Regions from separate parts of the Homo sapiens genome. Here all the other regions are linked to region 1. Evidence: promoter capture Hi-C in human tissues and cell types (Jung and others, 2019). All regions are on one chromosome and are shown on one strand. The core of a region is centred on a gene start or on the middle of the fragment in contact, and the rest is flanking DNA. Distances in the headings are between cores, read along the strand shown.

The links. Contacts are between HindIII fragments. The study calls those that stand out against the background at their distance.
Region 2: the fragment with the promoter of TSKS here is called in contact with the fragment with the promoter of RCN3 in region 1 in 2 of the 25 tissues and cell types used here (dorsolateral prefrontal cortex and small bowel).
Region 3: a contact is called between a fragment that was not itself captured here and the fragment with the promoter of RCN3 in region 1, in 1 of the 25 tissues and cell types used here (dorsolateral prefrontal cortex).

Annotation. Positions count from the first base shown.
Region 1 is chr19:49,526,656-49,529,362 of GRCh38, forward strand. RCN3 (reticulocalbin 3) reads left to right here and starts at 1,348. Exons shown (of 7, transcript NM_020650.3): 1 at 1,348-1,403; 2 at 1,812-2,059. The coding sequence starts at 1,818. RefSeq lists an enhancer at 1,264-1,842 and a silencer at 1,306-1,425. The HindIII fragment of the contact is 21,368 bases long and covers 1-2,707 here.
Region 2 is chr19:49,762,056-49,764,762 of GRCh38, forward strand. TSKS (testis specific serine kinase substrate) reads right to left here and starts at 1,251. Exons shown (of 11, transcript NM_021733.2): 1 at 1,023-1,251; 2 at 1-177. The coding sequence starts at 1,192. It also overlaps the pseudogene RNU6-841P. RefSeq lists an enhancer at 1-4. The HindIII fragment of the contact is 39,317 bases long and covers 1-2,707 here.
Region 3 is chr19:49,744,654-49,747,360 of GRCh38, forward strand. It overlaps TSKS (testis specific serine kinase substrate), which reads right to left. Exons shown (of 11, transcript NM_021733.2): 6 at 1,817-2,145; 7 at 549-743. Among named protein-coding and RNA genes, the nearest start is that of TSKS, 17 kb to the right of the region's middle. RefSeq lists enhancers at 1,515-2,034, 2,035-2,554. The HindIII fragment of the contact is 5,825 bases long and covers 1-2,707 here.

The sequences.
Region 1 (2,707 bases), core at 98-2,597:
ATTTTTTGTATTTTTAGTACAGACGGGGTTTCACCATGTTAGCCAGGATGGTCTCGATCTCCTGACCTCATGATCCACCCGCCTCTGCCTCCCAAAGGGGTGGGATTACAAGTGTGAGCCACCGCGCCCGGCCTAAGGTCACTTTTTTTTTTTTTTTTTAAGACAGAGTTTTGCTCTTGTTGCTCAGACTGGAGTACAATTGCGTGATCTCAGCTCACTGCAACCTCCGCCTCCCAGGTTCAAGCAATTCTCCTGCCTCCCAAGTAGCTGGGATTACAGGCATGCACCACCACACCCGGCTAATTTTTTGTATTTAGTAGAGACGGGGTTTCACCATGTTGGTCAGGCTGGTCTGGAACTCCTGACCTCAGGTGATCCACCTGCCTCAGCTTCCCAAAGTTCTGGGATTACAGGCATTGAGCTACTGTGCTCAACCTGAGGTCATGTATTTTTAATTCATAACTTTTACAAATATTTACTGGATGACTGCCATGCCAGGCATTTTGAGGAATTCTTGGCTACTGTCTGACCACCTGAATCCTTGGAGCCGAAGAGGAGCGAGGAGCAGTGTTCACTCTTGGAGGAAATGGGATATTTCCTCCGGCCCCTTGATTCTGCTCTCCCTTTTCTTTTCTTTTCTTTTCTTTCTTTTTTTTTTTGAGACGGAGTTTCGCTCTTGTTGCCCAGGCTGGAATGCAATGGTGCGATCTCGGCTCACCACAACCTCCGCCTCCCAGGTTCAAGCAATTCTCCTGCCTCAGCCTCCCAAAGTAGCTGGGATTAAAGACATGCGCCACCACACCCGGCTAATTTTGTATGTTTAGTAGAGATGGGGTTTCTCCGTGTTGATCAGGCTGGTCTCGAACTCCCGACCTCAGGCGATCCGCCCGCCTCGGCCTCCCAAAGTTCTGGGATTACAGGCGTGAGCCACCGCGCCCGGCCTTTTTTCTTTTCTTTCGTTCTTTTTGTTTATTTTTGTTTTGTTTTGTTTTGTTTGGTATAGAAGTGTTGGAACGTACACCTCTTTCTTAAACCATCCTGACAAAGGGAAAGGGAAAAATACATTTCCCGTGAGGCGTTGTGACTAGAACAGCTGGAGGTGGACGGCAGAGTGCCGCGACGACTGCCAGGAGTTGTAGTTCTCCCCGGCCGCGTCACTGCGGTGTCGCCCACCCTTCTTCCCCGGGCAGGCCGCGGTTTCCTTTGTGGACGTGGCGAGGAGTGCCCGCGGCACCCCGTGCACTCATTGGCCCCGCCCCGTGAGACGCTCGTGCGAGCTCATTGGGCGGGGGGCGGGGCTCTGCGCTGCCAGAGGCGGGGCCTGACTGGAGAGCGGCCGAATTGGGCACATTTGCGGGAACGCAGAGCGGAGCGTGGAGAGCGGAGCGAAGCTGGATAACAGGGTAAAGGGAGTGGGTGGGGGGCCTCTGTCCAGGGAGGGCGGCTCGGGTCGAGGACCAGGGTCCGGACTGGGAGCAATGACGGGGAGCCTGCCTGACCTCTCGCTGGCCACAACTATGCCCTGCACCTTGCGTGGGATGTGCGCCACGTCTGTCTCTGTAATTCCCCCTGGCAGGTCTGGGACCCCCCTGAGACTCCGTCAGAAGATTCGGTCCTCCCCATAGGTGGCTTTACCTCTAAGCATCCCGCCCTCTTTTCCCCCATCGCCCGCCCTTTTTGAGCCCGAAAGCTTGCAGCCAACTTCCAACTCCCTGTCCTGTCCTAGGTAACCCCTCCACCCCGCCATTCTCCTATCCCGTGTCTGTCCCCATCCCTGTGACCCCTGACCCCTGGCCTTTGCCACTCCCCAGGGACCGATGATGTGGCGACCATCAGTTCTGCTGCTTCTGTTGCTACTGAGGCACGGGGCCCAGGGGAAGCCATCCCCAGACGCAGGCCCTCATGGCCAGGGGAGGGTGCACCAGGCGGCCCCCCTGAGCGACGCTCCCCATGATGACGCCCACGGGAACTTCCAGTACGACCATGAGGCTTTCCTGGGACGGGAAGTGGCCAAGGAATTCGACCAACTCACCCCAGAGGAAAGCCAGGCCCGTCTGGGGTAAGAGAGACATTCGGTTGGGGCGTGTCCAGAGGTGGGGCTTAGGAGAGAGACGCGGGGGTATCGACAGGGGTCAGAGAAATGGCGTGGACTGAACTTCATTTCTTTGTGAGAAATGAAATTCTACCTTCTATCCTTGGGAAAAAGAAATTAAGTTAAAATTGAGGCCTAAAGAGGACCTTTGAGACCGGGCGTGGTGGCTCATGCCTGTAATCCCAGCACTTTGGGAGGCCAAGGCAGGCCGATCACTTGAGGTCAGGAGTTCGAGAACAGCCTGGCCAACATGGTGAAATCCCGTCTCTACTAAAAATACAAAATTAGGCAGGCGTGGTGGTGGGCACCTGTAATCCCAGCTACTCGGGAGGCTGAGGCAGGAGAATCGCTTGAACCTGGGAGGTGGAGGTTGCAGTGAGCCAAAATTGCACCACTGCCCTCCAGTCAGGGCGACAAAGTGAGACTCCGTCTAAAAAACAACAACAACAATAAAAAAGAGGACCTTTGAGGGCAGCAAAATCTGGGTTAGATTCTGCCCCCTAAGCGCTCCTTATTCTTTTGTCCCAGACATCTCCCCTCCCCAAGCCTCAGTTTCCTGCTCTGTAAATGGCAGGGACTGGTGTGGAAAATGAGGTTTGGCCTTTAAGGAGCCCG
Region 2 (2,707 bases), core at 1-2,500, 240 kb after region 1:
GCAGGGGGCCCAGCCAGTGTGAGTTGGCCGCTGAGGTCTTCCACTGTGGAGTCTGTCCCCGTGGAGTCAGTGGGCTCCATGGCGGCCAGGTTGAGCAGTGACACGTTGGTGCAGGCCGAGGACCGTTTGAGGTTCAGGCACCAGTGCATGGGCTGATGGGACATCTGGGGCTCCACCCTGCAGAGAAGAAACAGGCAGAAAAGTGGAGAAGCAGCCCCAGGGTGTCTGGGCCCTCCTGCCTTCCTTTCTCCATACCTCACCCCCTGTGACTCCACCCTCACTGTATATAAGTTTCTCCCTTCTCTGTCCCCGCTGCCTACTTTATTCTCCTTCCCTGTGCTGCCTACTTTCTTTCTTTTTTCTTTCTTTCTTTTTTTTTTTTTTTTGAGACAGAGTCTCACTCTGTTGCCCAGGCTGGAGTGCAGTGGCGCGATCTCAGCTCACTGCAACCTCCGACTGCGGGTCCCAGTTCAAGCAATTCTCCTGCCTCAGCCTCCTGAGTAGCTGGGGTTATAGGCATGTGCCATCACGCCCAGCTAATTTTAGTATTTTTAGTAGAGATGGCTTTTCACCATGTTGGCCAAGCTGGTTTTGAACTCCTGACCTCATGATCCACCTGCCTCGGCCTCCCAAAGTGCTGGGATTACAGGCGTGAGCCACCGTGCCCGACCACCACTGTCTACTTTCTTCTTCTCCTTCCCCGCTGCCTACTTTCTCCTCCCTTCTCTGCCACCTACTTTCTTCTTCATTCACTAGCCTCCCTTCTCCTTCTTCCCTCCCCACTGGCTTTTTCCTCTCTCCATCCATCCCCATTACCTTCTTCCTCCCTCCATCCATCCCCATTACCTTCTTCCTCTCTACCTCCCTGTGACTTGATGTCTCTTCACTGCTGCCCTCTTTCCTGCCCCCGACCTGCTGGCTTTTCCCCCTCCCCTTCCTCTAGCACCCACAGTCGGACTCCTGCTCTGTTGGAGGTAGTGCTGGGCATTAGAACCATCCCTGACAGTGTGCAACAAACCCACCCGTGGAACGACACGGCCTTCTTTTTCTTCGGGATCCCCTTGGCCCGGCTGGTCACCCTCCGGGGAGCCTCTGGGACTAGCTGGGAGCAGCTCTCCACCCCCGTGGGGGTGTCCCCGGCCTCATGGATCTCTTTGGACTGCCAGATCGTCTTCACCACCACGCTCGCCATGGTGTGGGGGTCTGGCTCCCAGGGAGGGGCTCCTTCCTCTGAGACTTCCTACCTACTGTGACCACAGACCCTCAGGATCCACTGTCCCCTCAGCCTGCCTCACAAAGGACCCAACCACTGGGCCCCAGTGAGTGGGGGGCACAGGGTAGGGAGAGATGCTGGCCCAGGTCATTCCCCTAGGGTTCTCAGTGGACTCCTCCTGTTCAGGATTCTAGTTACATGCCCAATGTGCCCCCCGTCTTCAGAGCTCCAGTGGATGGATTCATGCTAGCCTGTAACTTAACAATGGGTCGGCCCACGGATTCTTGGGAGAGGTCCAACTTCCCTCTCCCTGAGACTAAGCGTGGGGTCACACAGCCCTGTGCACTTGTTCTTGATTCTTCATGTAGCTTCCTGGATTTGACAATTGGCTGGGGTTTGAGAGACTGTGGTCGAAGAGGGCTGAGATCCAGACCCTGACCTGGAGGGTCTCATATTCTATGGGGCGTCGGGGTCGGGGGAAAGGCAATATACAGGTAGATCAACAAAAGAAAGCTAGGTGCGGTGGGCCTCGGGGTCAGGGTAGAAGGTGAGGGAGGAGAGGAAGGTAGAGAGTTGGGGCAGGACAGAGGGTGGTATCCCCCTCCCCCGTTTATTTATTTATTATTTTCTTTAATACTTTTTATTTTTTTTGAGACAGAGTCTCTCTCTGTCATGGAGGCTGGAGTTCAGTGGCGCGATCTCAGCTCATTGCAACCTCCACCTCCCGGGGTTCAACCGATTCTCCTGCCTCAGCCTCCCCAGTAGCTGGGACTACAGGCGCTGGCCACAATGTCCGGCTAATTTTTGTATTTTTAGTAGAGACGGGTTTCACCATGTTGGCCAAGTTGGTCTCAAACTCCCGACCTCAAATGGTCCACCCGCCTTAGCCTCCCAAAGTGTGGGATTACAGACATGAGCCACCATGCTCCGCTATAATTTTTTTTTTTTTTTTTTAGATGGAGTCTCGCTCTGACACCCAGGCTGGAGTGCAGTGGCGTGATCTTGGCTCATTGCAACCTCTACCTCCCAGTTTCAAGCGATTCTCCTGCCTCAGCCTCCTGAGTAGCTGGGACTACAGGTACCTGCCACCACACCCATCTAATTTTTTTTTTGTATTTTTAGTAGAGACAGGGTTTCACTGTGTTGGCTAGGCTAGTCTCCAACTCCTGACCTCGTGATCTGCCCACTTCAGCCTCCCAAAGCATTGGAATTACAGGTGTGAGCCACTGCGCCCCGCCCGCCCAAAGTATTTAAAAAATATATGGAACATGTCACAAATTTGCATGTGGTCTTTGCGCAGGGCCCATGCTAATCTTCTCTGTATCGTTCCAATGTTAATACATGTGCTGTCGAAGCGAGCACTGCCCTGCTATTTAGGGACAGACTTTTCCTGTTCTCTTCACACTTCTCAAAAAGACTAGTTCAAACATCACTGCTAATAGACATTTTAAATGCTGTTATCCCCAGGGAGAAAGTACTTCTTCCTGGTCATGA
Region 3 (2,707 bases), core at 135-2,634, 220 kb after region 1:
CTCTCTGAAGCTTTGAACTCCTGGGCTCAAGCGATCACTCCTGCCTCAGCCTCCCGAGTGGCTAGGACTACCAGGGTGCGACACCACACCACTCCCAGCTAATTTTTAAATTGTTTGTAGAGATGGGGTCTCCGCTATGTGGCCCAGGCTTGTCTTGCACTCCTGGCCTCAAGTAATCCGCCCACGTCGGCCTCCCAATGTGCTGGGATTATAGATGTGAGCCACCTCACTGGGCCACCTTTTGTAGATTACTGTTTGGAATGCCCCTCCTAGTTCTCTTAATTGATTTTCTCGGATCCCACTTGACCCCACCCTTTGCCCTTTTAAGGTATAGACCACACCCCTTCTCTAATTGATTCCACCCCTCAGGCCTTATTAGGGCTGATGCAACCCTTCCTGCTCTCTAATTGGTGTTTCCCGATGTCGGTATATGTTCCGGAATGCCTGGCCATAGCTGATTGGCCTACCCATTTCCCTCAAGACCCCGCCCTCAGGTTGGGATTGCCCTGCCCCTTCCGGTCTTCCCATGCACTGGCCCCAATCCTCACATGGTGCACAGCTCATCCGCCCGACCTCGCAGCTCCTGCAAGTCCCGCGCCGTCTGTGCCTGTTCGCGCTGTGCCCGCTCCCACTGGCCTAGGAAGCCGTCGACCCTGCCGCCCAGGCCCCCGAGCAGCCGCAGGGCTTCCTGCACCGCCCCCTCCTCCTGATGCCACCGGGCGGTCAGTGAGGACACCTCTCTCCTGGAGGGGCAGAGGAGGGGAATGGGTAGGGGCTAGGCTTCAACAGGTCCCCACCTACCCCCACGAGATAGGTGGGACAGGACTCACCTATCTCGCCCCACTGAGACCATGCCCGTGGCTCCAGACCCACCCAGGTCACCAAATTTTATTGCACCCTCCATTTGGTGAAATTTGGTCGTGTCCTCCAGAGCCCCGCCTTTATCCCCTTCCTTTATTGGCTATCTTGGCCCTTTCCTGGTCAGGTCCCCAACCTCTACCTGGGCTCCTCCAGACACTGGCCCCCCAAGGCACTGCCCACCCTACTCTGCCCCACGTGGTGCCTCCAGGACCACTCCTCTCCTAAGCCCCGCCCACCTCAGTTTCACCAGGCCTGGACCTGCCTCCCAGCAGCCCAGAACTAAAAAGTTCCTTATTCTGTCCCTCCCTTGCTCAGGTCACTGCCTTCGGGGCACTCCCTCCTCTGCTCTTGGAGACCCCAGCCTTGTCGCCTTCCGGTTAAGATCTAGGCCGGGCGCGGTGGCTCACGCCTGTAATCCTAGCACTTTGGGAGGCCGAGGCGGGCGGATCACGAGGCCAGGAGATCGAGGCCATCCTGGCTAACACGGTGAAACCCCGTCTCTACTAAAAATACAAAAAAATAGCCAGGCGTGGTGGCGGGCGCCTGTAGTCCCAGCTATTGGGGAGGCTGAAGCAGGAGAATGGCGTGAACCCGGGAGGCGGAGCTTGCAGTGAGCCAAGACGGCGCCACTGCACTCCAGCCTGGGCGACAAGCGAGACTCCGCCTCAAAAAAAACAAAACAAAACAAAAAACGATCTTTGAGGAACCTCCCCTGTGTCCCCGCCCACCGCAGCTCCTGGAGACTCCTCCCGTGTCTCTACCCACCTTCGTTCCTCGAGGCTCCTCCCATGTTCCCGCCCACCTCAGGTCCCCGAGGCTCCACCCATGTCACCGCCCACCTCAGCTACTTGAGAACCCCCGTCCCTTGGGTCCCGCCCACCGCATCTCCTCGAGGCTCCACCCCTGAGTCCCCGCCGATCTCGTTTTCGAGGCTCCGCCCCTAGGTCCCGCCCACCTCAGCTCTTCGATGCCGGTGAACAGCTTCTGCAATTCCTGCTCGCTCACGTAGGGGCCCTCGCCAGCCCGAGGCCCCATTCCCCAGCCTGCGGGGACCAGGCCGTGTGGCCGCGAGGGTTTGTCGGGACTCCCTGGCGGGCCGGGGCAGCCCTGGGACGTGGCGGCGGGGCCCAGGCTGTTCCAGGAGAGGCCAGCCTCCGGCTTCTGCTTCTCCTCCGGCTCCTGCTTCTCCTCCGGCTCCTGCTTCTCCTCCGGCTCCTGCAGCTCGGCCTCCTGCCGTCGCGGCGTCTCATCCTGCAGCTGCTGCTGGAGGTAGCGCAGCTTCTCCTGGGTGGTAAGGGAGGACGGGGTCACAGCGTCCAGCCGCTTTCCTCCCGCAACCACCTCCACCCCAAAATCCGCTCCAGTACTCCCCGAGATTGGAAGTAGAACGCCTGTGGGGACAGTATGTTGGAAGTCTCACTGGCTGTCATTAGGGAGGGGAGGCACCATTTGAGGCCCAGTTGGACTCCAATTCCCGCTAACCTCCCACAGCCTGCCTCCAGGTATCCACCCGGCCCTCCAAGCCCTCCAGGCGTCAAATACCAGTCCCGGCCACTTGGCAAGAACAACTGAAGCTTTCTCAGCATTTTGTTGGAAAATGAGTGGGCATGTGGACAGGACGGGCCTTCTCACCTGAAGTCCAGCTCGATTCTCTTTCTGGGACCTGAATGTGACTGCAGGGCAAGAGTCCCCCATCTGGGTGTTGGAGCCTCATTTGAATCCCTCTTATCAGCGAGTTCTAAGGATGACTATGTGCACGAAGGTGCAGTGTGGTGGTGGTGTCGGGGCAGGGAGTTCCACCTAAAAGTGTATCTTGAGTCCCTCGTGCATCTGACCTCCTCCCACA